Regions from separate parts of the Homo sapiens genome. Here region 1 is linked to region 2. Evidence: promoter capture Hi-C in 16 types of primary human blood cells and fetal thymus (Javierre and others, 2016). All regions are on one chromosome and are shown on one strand. The core of a region is centred on a gene start or on the middle of the fragment in contact, and the rest is flanking DNA. Distances in the headings are between cores, read along the strand shown.

Region 1 (6,417 bases), core at 2,949-5,448, 590 kb after region 2:
GGCCGTGCTAGTGCGCGGAAGACGCATGCGCTGGCGGCCTGCGCCGCCTTAAGTGCCGCGCCAGCCCGGGGCGGCCCAGTCGGCCTGTCAGCCGGCTTCGAGATAAGTCCCGGCGCTTGCGCGGCGGCGGCTATGGCGGCGGAGGAGGAGGAGGTGGACTCTGCCGACACCGGAGAGAGGTAAGCGCAGCCGGCAGGGGGCTTCGTGTGTCTCCGGCGCGCACCCTCCGCGCGGGCCGGGTTAGGGCCCAGCGGGCAGCACCAAGGAGTCGCCGCCCGCCTGGCGACGACGGGCGGCTTCCTCGACCCTCCCCGGCATGAGTCCGCGCGGCGCCCAGAGGCGTCCCGGCGCCGCTCTGCCTGGGAGAGGCTCCCCTCAGCGTCGGGGCCCCGAGGTGTCTGAGCCGGACTCCGGCCGCGCCGGGAGGCCGCCTTGACCCCGCGCGGAGGGTCCGCCCCGTTGTTGTATAAGCCACCCCGCGGGCCGGCGACGGAGCTGGCCGCGGCGGCCGCACCGGCTCGGGCTCTGCCAAGGGACCCGGCCTGCCCCAATGCCGCCGGCGGGCGGTGCCCGGTCGACCCTGCACCTGACTGCGAGGCGCGGGAAATGACCGGGTCTGTCAGCCTCCCATCGCGGCTTCCGTCTACAGGTACTACCTGTGCTCTGTCCAGCCTCAGCCACTGGACGATCCTTCCCGTAGCCGTAGGAAGGGGCGGCGCTTCCTTGGAGGGGATATTAGAGGCCCGAATTCGCCCGGGAAGCGGCGGGAGGGCGGGGGTGCCGGGAAGGAGGGAGGGGAGAAGGAGTGAGGGAAGTGGGTGTATGGCTGTGAGTTTCAGATACTTCATAGAAAGAAAGTTAGCCCTTAAGATAGAGATACACGTTCAAATGTCATAATTCATCTTTCGGATGAAGGTCTTTGGCTTGCAAGCTCCACTGTCCCTTATTTGTTTGCGCTTCTGGGATTATTCTGGCTTTACTGGCGAAGTGTGTGTTGCATGTGCCTTAGAAGAACACACATAATGTATAGGAAACTGTGGAAGTTGGAGGGCAGATGTCTAATGTGAAACTTTTTTATATACAGGTATAGTGAGTTTATTCTTTTCTACACCTAAATGACTTCTTGCACTTGTTAGTAGAAGAATAGTAGTTAATGAGTGGAATAATTAAATTGTTATGGAGGTTATTGCCTTGTTTCTCAAGGCCTGTCGTTTGTATTGGAAAGTAAACTTCCCCCATATATATTTAATTTTTTGACGTCGGTTCTACTTCAGACGTCTGGAGAAATTTGCCTAGGAAACATAACCTAAATGATAGAATATGGAGTACCATGAAGACAGGGATATTTGGAAAGATGTCATGGGGAAAAATTGTGAAATATTAGAAAGGAAGTTATTCTCTTGAGTTTTGTTTATTTGTTGAGGTTTGTTGATGAACTTCCTCGTTGCACTGAGGTGAAATGTTGAATGTCATGTGGACGCAAGTAGGAACGTAATTGGTAGGTTGTGTTCTCATCTTGTTTGTCACAACATTTTTGACTCTTGACACTACTTTCAGGTGGACTATTTGGTTTTGATGTAGTGGGGCCTTGGAGTCCAGGACACAATCGTGAAAGGGTTTTATGGCTTGGAGTGATGGTTGGAGGTCATTGGAGGTAGATGATTAAAAAATCCTTAGCAGCTGATCAGCCATAGTTTCTAGACAGAAGTGGGCTTCGCTGGTATTCTTGGCAATATGCTTTAGCAGTGTCCAGTGACTATCCCCAGAAGTGATCCTGTTAAATCCAAGGTTGCCCCTGTGTGCTGGGTATTATTGTTCCCATTTTGCAGTTGAAACTGCCACTGTAAAGGCTGCTAACAGCCTGCCAGCAAGTAGCAGGGCTGGATTGGAACCCTTTGTGGAACCCTTTGAGGTGTCTGGATTTAATCTAAGGTGCTTACCCTGTATCCCTGCTGCCTGTCACTGGAATTGGGACTCATGTGGGATGTTTGGCTCTTGTTTGAATACAGTTCCCTACCCTTAAGACATTTGAGGTTTAGATAGGGAGATAACATTAACAAAGGAAAGTTATAAAATGGTCATCTGATGGCTTTTTGGAGAATATGATTCTTGTCCTTTGCTTTGTGGCACTTAGTGAAGACAGGCATACTGGGATCCATTTTGCTTTCAACATCCAACCCCTTTCAGTTGCAATACAGTTGAGAAAGCTAAATGTAATGAGAGTAGAGTAGACTTCTGTGAATTGCTTTAAGTTGTCCTAGAGAATGATTTAGTGTCAATTGAGTTGAGAGAAAGCTGTCACAGAATTGCTCAGTTGCAGGGTAGACCATAAAAGAGGTGATTTGCAGTTGTGTGCTGGAGTTGATTTGTACCAGCAAGCCATTGCTAAATTTTCAGGAATTTTGCCAACGGTTGGCAGCTTGAAATTGGCCATGGTGGGAGTATTTACACCACGGAAATCATCAAATGCTATAAATAAGGTATAAATAAGGGATTTTTCTCTCCCCTCCCTGCTTCAGTTTGTTTGCCAGCTCCCCACTGGGTTTACATTAGACTGTGAATGTAGGTCTTTGCCTTGGAGATAGGAGAGTGGATTTCTCTATCTAATCTTTTTAAAAACTGGCAAGATATGTGCCTTTCTCTCTGCTGCCTTCTCTCCTTCCCAAACCTTTGCCACCTGATATCTTAAAAATCACAAAACTTTTCACTGCCACATCCCAATGGCCTTCTAGTTTTTTTCAGTACTTCTTCTTGGGTCCTTTTTGGTGTTTGTTACTGTAATGATAGCTACTACTTTTTGAAACTCTTATTAGACATTCTAGGTCTTAATGACATTTTGCCTTTTATCTTACCTTACCTGACCAACAATAACTTTTATTAGTTTCTCCTCTTTTTTTTTTTTTTGCATTCTCTAAATGTAGTCATTTTCCAAGATTCTGTCATCATCCTTGTTTTTATTTTTCATCTTGTTTACTCAAACGTGAACTGTCTTGTCTGTGGAGATGACTCAGATCTCATTTTCTTTCTGGAGCCCTCTTCTGTACTCTGGTAATGTTTCTAATTGTCAGATGTTTGTGCCTGATTCCTCAAATTTAACATGTCCAGACCATGATCTTATTTTTACCTTCCTGCTCCTAAACTAAACGATATAAAAAGCTTAGTTCTGGCCGGGCGCCGTGGTTCACGCCTGTAATCCTAGCACTTTGGGGTAACACCGTGAAACCCCGTCTGTATTAAAAATACAAAAAAATTAGCCGGGCAAGGTGGCGGCGCCTGTAGTCCCAGCTACTCGGGAGGCTGAGGCAGGAGAATGGCGTGAACCCAGGAGGCGGAGCTTGCAGTGAGCCGAGATCGTGCCACTGCACTCCAGCCTGGGCGACAGAGCAAGACTCCGTCTCAAAAAAAAAAAAAAAAAAAAAGCTCAGTTCTTCCTCTTGAAACATTATATTGGCTTAATCATTGCCTTGACTAATTGTTAGATTATTAGTTTAATCTCATGGTTCTGTAATTCCCACTCCTGATTGTGAGTTACTAAAAAAAATCATATGGAGAGGTGATTTTATTAAAACTGATTATTCAGTTGAGACCTAGGATTTTTAGTTTTATTCTCTTTATTATCTAGTGAATGAACTTATTTTAGAACTGATGCAAAGAAATGTCACTGACTTGTTAAGTAGAGTACACCTGTGGCTTCTTCAAGTGTGTTTGATAATGAGGTCATATAAGTGACTCTAAAATGGTTTGTTTACTGTGTGAAGGAAGGTAGGAAACAATGGGGAGATACGTGTTACCAGCACATGGCTTGTCTAAAACACTTATACTACCAATCTGAGTCTTTAAAAGTTACAGGTTGGGGGGGGAGGGGCAGTTAAAACAGTATTAATTAATGTGTTAACATATATTAGAGGGCCTGGATTGTCATTGATCTAATAGTGATAATTTGAATCACTTAAGTATCATTTATCCAAAATAAAATGGCATGTTAGTCACTTAAATTGTAGCTGTATGAGACCATATTCTTTTTTTTTTGTTTGTTTTCCAGAGACAGGTTCTTGCTCTGTCACCCAGGCTGGAGTGCAGTGGCACAATCATGGCTCACTGCAGCCTCAACCTCCTGGGCTCAAGCAATCCTGCCACCTCAGCAACTTGCCCCCCAGCCCCTGTATTCCACCCCCCCAAGGTTGCTGGGACTATAGGCATGTGCCAGGCGGCTGGGACTACAGGCATGTGCCAGGCAGCTGGTCTTGACCTCCTGACTGAGCTCAAGCAATCCTCCCACCTCAGCCTCCCAAAGTACGCTTTTTTCTTTTCTTTTTCTCTTTCCCAAGAATAGGATTTAAAAAGTCAATTCCCAAGAAAGGTCTTTATTTACCCAAGTGTTATAATTTCCAATTTGGATGTTTTTAGTCATTGGTTGAGGAAGTATCTCAGATAAATATAAATGTAAATATAAATAAATGTATATATTCATACCTGTAATTCATTTGGATATTTATAATAAAAATCAAAGCCTCATGGTTTCTTTAAATGAGATAGAGAGCTGTGCTTAGGTTTATCAAGAGCAATAAGTTTATGTGATTTTTCTCTCTCAACTACTAGAATAGGAATGGAGGCCATTTTAAACAAAATTTTAATATAATGAAATCCTCTTTACTTATAACCTAATTAGAAATATTAAGTGGCCAAGAGTGTATGGAAACTGGCCAGATTTCTGCATATTTTCTTCAGAATACTTCGAAACCTCTTTCACTGTTTCATAATGTTTATAGATTGTGCAATTCAGGTTTAGTAATACTGTAGATAGACAGATGTGTTAAAGAACAAAACAGAGATTACCAGGAAACTTAAGTGTTGATAGTATGGAGTATAAGTATGACATAATATTTTTTTAGAAGGATTACGTAAAAAGTTAATGGAAAAAGTGGTGTCTATCTCTCACTCAGGATACTTAAAGTCAGATTCTTAGGTAAAATATACTCTATTAATATGTTAAGCACATCTTACTTGGCTTTCCTTAGAATTGTCACCTCTGATGTGATCTTTTATAACTTTTCTTACTCAAAAGTCTGCTCACTAAAAAGATTCTTAGTTTGCACTACAATGGTTGTAAAACAAGAATCCTTTCTTTTTTTGTTTTTGTTTCTGTGATTAGATGCTTTAGGGCTTATATCCTTTGCCTTGCTAATAAGGTAAGTGCCCAACTGATGGGGCTGTGTAGAAAACTTTTTGGCTTGCATTGGTAAGCTTTCCCCATGTCATAGATGCTTACTATTAGAAAGCTATAGTTCCTGTGGTGAATGACTTCTCTTTGTATTACAGTTGACACTTTGGTCACTGTTGAATTTAGGCCTCAGTGATGGATGATAGTGTTTATTGCTTGTCTCCTTAAATAAAATAGAGAAGTTAGGTTTTGCTTTTCTATTTATTTTCCAAAGCTATGAGGAAGAGGCATTGAATCTAGTTTACTGTTTTATAGGTGGGCTGTGTGAATTTAATTTTTGCCTTGAATTTTGTGACCTCAGAAGAATGGCAGAATATCTGACAAGCTTCAGTCCTGTGTCCTTAGTTCCAGTCTTCTATATACTAAACCTAGGAATGCTGAGCAACACTGAATGGCATAGGATACCACTGGGGAGGGGGCAAAGGGTCTCTTTGAAGGTGAGATTAATTTATCCCGAAGACAGGAGGTAGAGTTGGATGGGTAAGTTTTAAAGGGTTGAAGCAATAGAGGTTGCAAGGTAAGGTATGAGACCTTTGAACAAACAGGAATCAACTAAAGGGTGGAAAAGATAAGGCCCTTGCTTTTTACTCATTGGAAATGTTCCTTGAAGCCTATTATGTATATAACACTTAATCCTGTAGAGTGTCTCAAAGAAGCAGAGGATAGTTTCTGTAAAACATTTAATCATCTGGTTAAAGTGAAACTGGACAGAAGCATTATCAGGGCTTAGGGGAAGAGTGCTATCTTTACAATTCCATTAAGAGTAAAAATATCTTGCTATGTTTTGTTAAATATATATTTTTCTGTTAGAAAAAAACCCACTTTAAAAAATCACCTGTTTTGATGAAAATGCTTCTGTGAAAACCTGAAGAGAGTTGGTGCCTCTTCTTATGGTTGAAGATCCCTACTTTTTAATGTAAGCTTACAAACATGAAAACATGTTTTGCCCCTTCTCTGAGTTGAGCTGGTCACTAGAAGGCAAATCCATGGACAGACAGTCCCATTGTTTGAAAGCTGGTTTTGTGGTAAGTGGTAAGTTGGTGGAGGTAGGCATGATTCTTCCATTACAGGCTGGTATGTAACTTTTTAAACACTGGTGCTTTGTACATAGTAGGTATTCAGTGTCTGAATTATTTTTTGAGTGTCGTTTTTTAAAAAAGTATCCTTTTTTAATGCAAAGAATGCATTTGTGTTTT
Region 2 (6,804 bases), core at 2,156-4,655:
TTAACATGAGAAAACCAAGTTTTAGTGGAGTTAAGTACCTTGCTTAAGGTCTTAAAGCTCAAGAAGGGCCACCAGGATTTGAACCTGCCTCTCACTAAGGTCTTGTTCTTAGTACCGTGCTCATCTGTCATCAGACTTGGAGGAACACTCAATGGCAGATAAGCAGAGTAGACTGTAGAGCAGTGAGTTTTTATTAGTCAAGGGCAGAGCAGGTGTGGTGGCCCTGGAAATGTAGAACCACAGGCCCTGGACTGTAACTTAGCAACCCAAGGCTTCTTGCTGTAATTCCTCCCCACCCAGCCAGGCAGAGGGTACCCAGCTGTGACAGGTGGCTTAGGGAGCTGTGGCCATTCTCTCACCCTAAGGAGAGTCTAAGTAACATACTAGTGTGATAATTTATCCCATGTGCCCTGGTACTGTGCTGAGAGGGTTAGGCCATCAATTTAGAATTACAAAACCACTGCCCTTTAGAGCTACAAGAACCCTTAGAAATGATTTCCTCCAACTCTTTATTTCATAAAAGAGGTCTGGAGAGGCAGTGTGAGCTCTCACAGGCAGCCAGGATTAAAATGGCAGAATGTTGGCTCTCAGTCCAGGGCTCCTTCTCCTCCCTTATCCACAGCTCAAGGGCTGCTCTCCCTCACAAAGCAAAGATAAGGCTCAGAGAATTATGCAGCCCCAGAACATTTCCCAGGAGCTAAACGAAGGCATTTCTTCTCATACACAAGCTTCCCAGATCCCACCCAGCCTGCACCCTCACCCAGCACTGCCCCCTCACCCAGCCCTGCTGTCCAGTGATGAGACCCTAAAGAGGCGACAGGGCTTGCCTGGGCTGCCTCTTCCTAACACCTCCTCCCCTGAACTCACTCAGGGACTGTCCCCTACAGCTTCACCATGCATCCAACACCAGCCACAGAGAGGAAACACACAGCCAGGCTGCAGGGTCCTGCCTCTGACCCACTTGGTGCGGGAAGACTCCCTGCTGCAAGACTGGAGGCTGCCCCAGGTCATAACTGGGCTTCAAGAATGCAAGAACAGCAAGGACGATGGGCAGCAGAGAAGGAGAATTACATGGCACCAGTTCTGGAGCTGGAGATGCCAGGATATGAATTCCCATCCCTGTCACTTAGCAGCTAAGTGACCTTAGGCCAATTCTTTACCTCTCCAAGCCTTCACTTCCTGGCTTGAAAAACACAATTATACCTACTTCACAGGGTAGTTTTGTGAATTCAAAGAGACAGCAAAGGCAAAACACCATGTCTGACAATTATTTTTCTAATATTATTATTAATCGTAATGGTAAAATAACTCCTGTTCACTGGCTTTCACTCTCAGCCAGGCACAGTGCTAACTGTTTTACACGCATTATCTCATTTATTCCCCACTACCTGAAGTAAATGCTATTAATTCAATTTCACATTTAAGAAGGTATGCTTAGAGGCATTAAGTGAATTGCCCAGTGATACACAGCAATTAAGTAGAGGGGTTAGGATTCAAAACCAAGACGGACTCCAAAGCCCGTGATGACATTTGCAGGTTCCACCTTTCACATTCATTATTTCATCCAATTTAAGAAACCCTGGGAATCACGTGATTGGTAGGTCCTGGGGGGAAAGTATCCCACTGACAACCAAGCTGAGATTGGCAAGGACCCTTGGAATGGGGGATTTGGTAATCTAATTTTCTAGTTAGTGCAATATTTACTAGAAGGCTTTGTTTATTGCTAAATATTTTCTAAAGCAAGGCTCAGAGCAAGAACTTGCCAACTAGCATGCTTACATGGCCACGGTGGGCCCAGCCACCAGCACCATGCCCTCCTTTCTGCTGAAGATCTCCACTCTCCTTCTCGTTCTCGCAGGGGCCCAAGGCTCAGGAAGGAACGTGCTGACCACCCCTGGGGATGAGGGGACCTATGCTCTTTCCTAGCTCTGCAGGGACTGAGATTCCTCAAAATTAATATTGAAAGGATGAGCTGGAAGATCTGCAAGATTCATGAGAGCCAGAGAGGGCAGCTAGTACCATTAAAGATGAACCTGGACTCCAAGCACCTCTAACACTTTCTGTCGTTAGTCACCACGACTGCTGATATTTGCCACACACTTACTGTTAGACATACTGGGCTGAGGACTTGCCTGGCACTATTTCATCCCCACTGCAACCCCGTGATAAAGGCACTGTACTTTCATCTCCACTTCACAGAGAAAGAAACAGAGGCTAAGAGAGGATAAGTGACTTGCTTAAACGCACACCGCTAGTAGCCGAGAACCAAGATTTGAAGGCGGGGCACATATTGTAGTAAACATTTGGTGAATGAAACCTCCTCTGTCTATGCTCTTAGCTACTAAGTCCTATCAAGCTCGCCCCATAACCCTGAAGTCATCCTTTTCCACGCGGAGCCTTGCTTCTCCCAAGAGTACGCTCTAAGTGTTGGCTGGCAATAAAGTAGGCAGACACTGGTCGCCCTGCACCTGGTGCAAGACTCTGGCCTGACGGTCACATACTTTAGCAGAGAGTTCCCATCAGTGAGCTGGAGACGGGTTCCTAAACACACACATGGAGTCAGGAGTTCACTGGGTTCCTTCTTCAGAGGCTACTCTGGCACTGCCAAGCAGGCCGTGGCAAGCTCTTACCACCGGACACACATGGTAGGTGCCCTACTGGCCCCCAAAGCGCCCAGGAATCAGCTGCAGGCCTGCCGGGGTTCTGCCTTCAAAGGCAGTTGGGGAGGCCCAGGCCCGCTCCGCGCACCTCGCGTGGCTCCCCACCACCCCCGCCAAATGTGCACCACCCATCACCTCCCAAAGCAAAAGGGCCTGAGGACCCGACGCCAGTGCCTGCCACGAGCTGAGGGCTCGAACTGGCAAGCCCCAGGGCGTTGCCCAGGTCCCCGGCCCCCGGCCCCCGACCCCCAATCCCCGGCCCCCGACCCTGAGGGTCCACCCCCGCCCCGCCCACCTCCCGCGCCTCCCTCAGCTCGCTTCACACGTCACCCCTCAGTTCTGCAAACTCTCCTGGATCCCGAAGGCGTCCTAGAACCTCCCCCTCACCCCGGGGCCCAGCACCGCGTCGTCCCCTCCAGGGGGCCGAGGGTTCGACACCTCCACTTCAAGTCCCAGGCGGGTGTCGGAGTCCGCTCCAGCCCCAAGCGCGCGCGCGTCTTACCTGAAGCCTGGACTCCGCGGGACGAAGCCACCTCCGCCGACGCGTCCAGGAGGCCCCACGGCGGCGCCGCTTTCCCACCCCGCCGCCGCCCCCAGCGCCAGCTTCTGGCCCAGGAGGCCCAGAAGGCCCAGGCAGCCAGCACAGGTTTGGCCGCGCCGCCGGGTTCGCAGCGACCGCCACCTCCAGGCTCGCAGGTGTCCGCCGTGCGCCTGCCCGGCGGGCGAGCCCGGCGCGGAGCCTGTGCGCCTGCGCAGAGCCGCGAGTTCGGTTGCCCTGGCCCCGGCCACAACCTTGGCTCGCGGAATCCTGGGAGGTGTAGTTTTGCGTACGAGGACAGCCCGCGCCGCCACCAGCCTGCGGAATGTTGGGAGTGATAATTTGCGCCGAGAGGCTGAGTTTTACTTAGTGTTAGGATTACACAGTTATGGCAGTTCTGATAATAAATTTAAATGCAAGTTTAACCAACAACCAAATGTCATTGTAAAGTCAAGGTAATTAATACGTTTACATGCTTTTAAAAATTGTAATGCTACAGAGAACTTACAAAAGCACCAGTCCTCTGCGGCACCATTCCATTAACCAGCTGTCACCTTATCCCACCGTCCAGTCCTGGCTGTCCAGTCCTCAAGGGCAGCTACTTATGGCTGTGGCATCTGGCATTCCCGCGGATTCTCCGAATATACATATGCCCCTATTTCTTGAGTTATGAATTTTAGATCTTTTGACTTCTTTTTTAGATCTCTTGACTTTTTTTGAACTTAAGTCATCTAGAGATGCACCTACCACCACCAACTCCACCTCCATAGAGTTATAAGATTTCTACCTATCAAATTGGGAAAGCCCTGACTTTAATTTATGATTATTTTAAATTAGCCCAAATGTTAAGGTATTAAGTTGGTAAATTTTTGCAGGGCAATTTGTCAATACAGCCAAAAACCTTTAAAAACATGTAGTCAAAAGCCTCTAACCAAGAAATTCTAATAATTGTGGATGACTGCAAAGGCTGAATAGTGTTGTTTAGATGATAATAAACTGAAAGGCTGAAGTGGTGATATTACTTTCAGAGAGAGTAGAATTGACAGCAAGGAAAATTACCAAGAATAAAAAAGGGATAATTATATAATGATAAAAGGTTCAATTCACCAAGAAGACATAATTCTAAATGTGGATACACCTAACGACATAGCCTTAACATAAATAAATCAAATGATAGAACCATAATTAGAAATAGACAACTCTGCAACTGTAATTGGAAACTTCAGCATCCCTCTCTCAACAACTGATAGAACACTAGACAGAAAGTCAGCAAGGATATAGAAAAGATCAACACTAATACCATCCTAATCTAATTGATATTTACATAATACTTCACCCACCAACAGAATACACATTCTTTTCAAGCAACCTTGGTATATATATTAAGATAAACTGTATCCTGGATCATAAGTTTTTAAATATACAGAAGACATTAATATATATTTTACCAAAGTAGTTATACAGATGGCAAATAAGGACAGATGTTCATCACTAGCCATAAAGGAAATGCAAATTAAGACTATGCTGAGATATCACCATACACCTATTTAAAACAGCTTAAAAAGGCAGGGCGCGGTGGCTCATGCCTGTAATGCCAGCACTTTGGGAGGCCATGGCTGGCGAATCACGAGGTCAGGAGTTCAAGACCAGCCTGGCCAACATGGTGAAACCTCGTCTCTACTAAAAATACAAAAATTAGCTGGATGTGTTGGTGCGCGTCTGTAAACCCGGCTACTCAGGAGGCTGAGGCAGGGGAGAATCACTTGAACCCAGGAGGCGGAGGTTGCAGTGAACCGAGATCGCGCCACTGCACTCCAGTCTGGGCTACAGAGCAAGACTCCATCTCAAAAACAAACAAACAACAACAACAACTACAAAACAGCTTAAAAAATAAAATAGCAAATGCTGGTGAGTATGCACAGAACTGGATCTCTCATATATTACTCACAGATGGGTATATCATGGTAGTTTCTTTTAAAAAACTAAACATATGCTTCCCATATGACTCATCAATCACACTCCTGAGCATCTATTCCAGAGAAATGGAAACTTATGTTAACACACAAACTTGTACACAATTGTTCCTACTTTCTTTATTTGTAATTGTCAAAAACTGTCAACAAACAAAATGCCCCTCGATAGGTGAATGGTTAAATAAACTGTGATTACATCTATATAAAGAATATCATTCAACAATAGAAAGGCACAATTGACACATGCCACAACTTGGGCATTATGCTGGGTGAAAAAAAGTCAGTCTCAAAAGGTTACATACTCTGGTTGCCATTTGTATAACATTCTTGAAATGACAAAACTATAGAGATGGAGAAAATATTAGTGGTTGTCAGAGGTTGAAGACAGGGTGTAGGTGTGAATATATAAGGGTAACAGAAGGGAAGCCTTTGTACTGATGAAATAGTTCTTTGTCTTGATTGTGGTAGTGGTTACACAAATCTACACATGTGATAAAATGACTAAAACTACACACAAACTTTCTATCAAGGTTAAATTCCTGATTTTTATATTGTATTATAATTACGTACAATGTAACCATTGGGGGAAACTGGATGAAGAGATTCCTCTCTGTACTATCTTATTATAGATTTTCACAAATCTATAATTATTTCAAGATAAAAAGTAGGAAAAAAAACAAATTTGGAAACTGCTTAATTCCTCAGTCATGCAGGATTAAGTAAAATCACAGATCATCTCAGAAATCATTGAAAAGATGCTGCAAAATAGTATTTACTTAATAGAGTGGAAGACATTTCACATTATATCATATTTAATGAAAAAAGTATAAAATATTCCATAAGATCCCATTTTTAAAAAGAATATATTTGTGCACAGTAACAGCACAGAGCACAGAAGGATATCAGCAAAATTTCAATGAGCCATGACCCAGGGTGGTAAGACTATGGGTGTTTTTTTATTGTCATCTTGCTGGTTACCTGTATGAATTTATTCTGAAGTGAACATATATTGTTTTGTTATTTTAAATATAAGTTGTTTAAAAAACTTCTAAGTTTTAAAAAGCTCCTATGTTGAGTTTATGGGTCTCTATAAGATAGCCAGTCATAGTCACTGATAGAAAGAGGCACCTAACAGTCCAAGAGAGCAGCCCCTTGCTGGAGGTGGACAGGGATTGGGTTCTGGCCAAAGCTGAATCTCCTGGATAGGATCTAACAGGATGGCCTGTAAGTCACCTAGGACCCAGTTTGCAGACACTGATCATCTTTGAGTCCATCATGTTTTGAAAACTATTCTGGCTGTGGAGCATTGCTGGTAGGAAGCTTTAGTAGACTGGAAAAAACTAGTACATTTCTTTTTATTAAATATCCAAGGTGGCTTAGGTAGCTGGCTTTTTGAGGTCTTTCCCAGCATTTTAAATCCATATTCATGCATGCCAAGCTGAGTTAGGCATTCCTCAAGTCCAAGCCCTCTCCCTTTGTCTGGGGTCATATTCCCTTTCTATTTCTCTGTGTGGATGCCTTCCAAACCCACATCTCTAGCCCTGAATTCCAGATCCACATTCCCAATCCAAGTTGCTTGGGGCATACACACCTCCACCTGGCTGGCCTGCTAGGATCTTAAAATCTGCATGAT

Evidence for each region. The method cuts DNA at HindIII sites, captures the fragments that hold promoters and counts their contacts. A CHiCAGO score of 5 or more calls a contact.
Region 1: a fragment that was not itself captured here is called in contact with the fragment with the promoter of POMGNT2 in region 2 in 1 of 17 cell types (fetal thymus); the score reaches 5.1 in fetal thymus.

The regions. Positions count from the first base shown.
Region 1 is chr3:43,690,861-43,697,277 of GRCh38, forward strand. ABHD5 (abhydrolase domain containing 5, lysophosphatidic acid acyltransferase) reads left to right here and starts at 78. Exons shown (of 7, transcript NM_016006.6): 1 at 78-179. The coding sequence starts at 133. It also overlaps a transcript of ANO10 not described here. RefSeq lists a silencer at 250-729. The HindIII fragment of the contact is 2,088 bases long and covers 3,155-5,242 here.
Region 2 is chr3:43,102,674-43,109,477 of GRCh38, forward strand. POMGNT2 (protein O-linked mannose N-acetylglucosaminyltransferase 2 (beta 1,4-)) reads right to left here and starts at 3,406. Exons shown (of 2, transcript NM_032806.6): 1 at 3,163-3,406. RefSeq lists a silencer at 3,174-3,493. The HindIII fragment of the contact is 5,763 bases long and covers 727-6,489 here.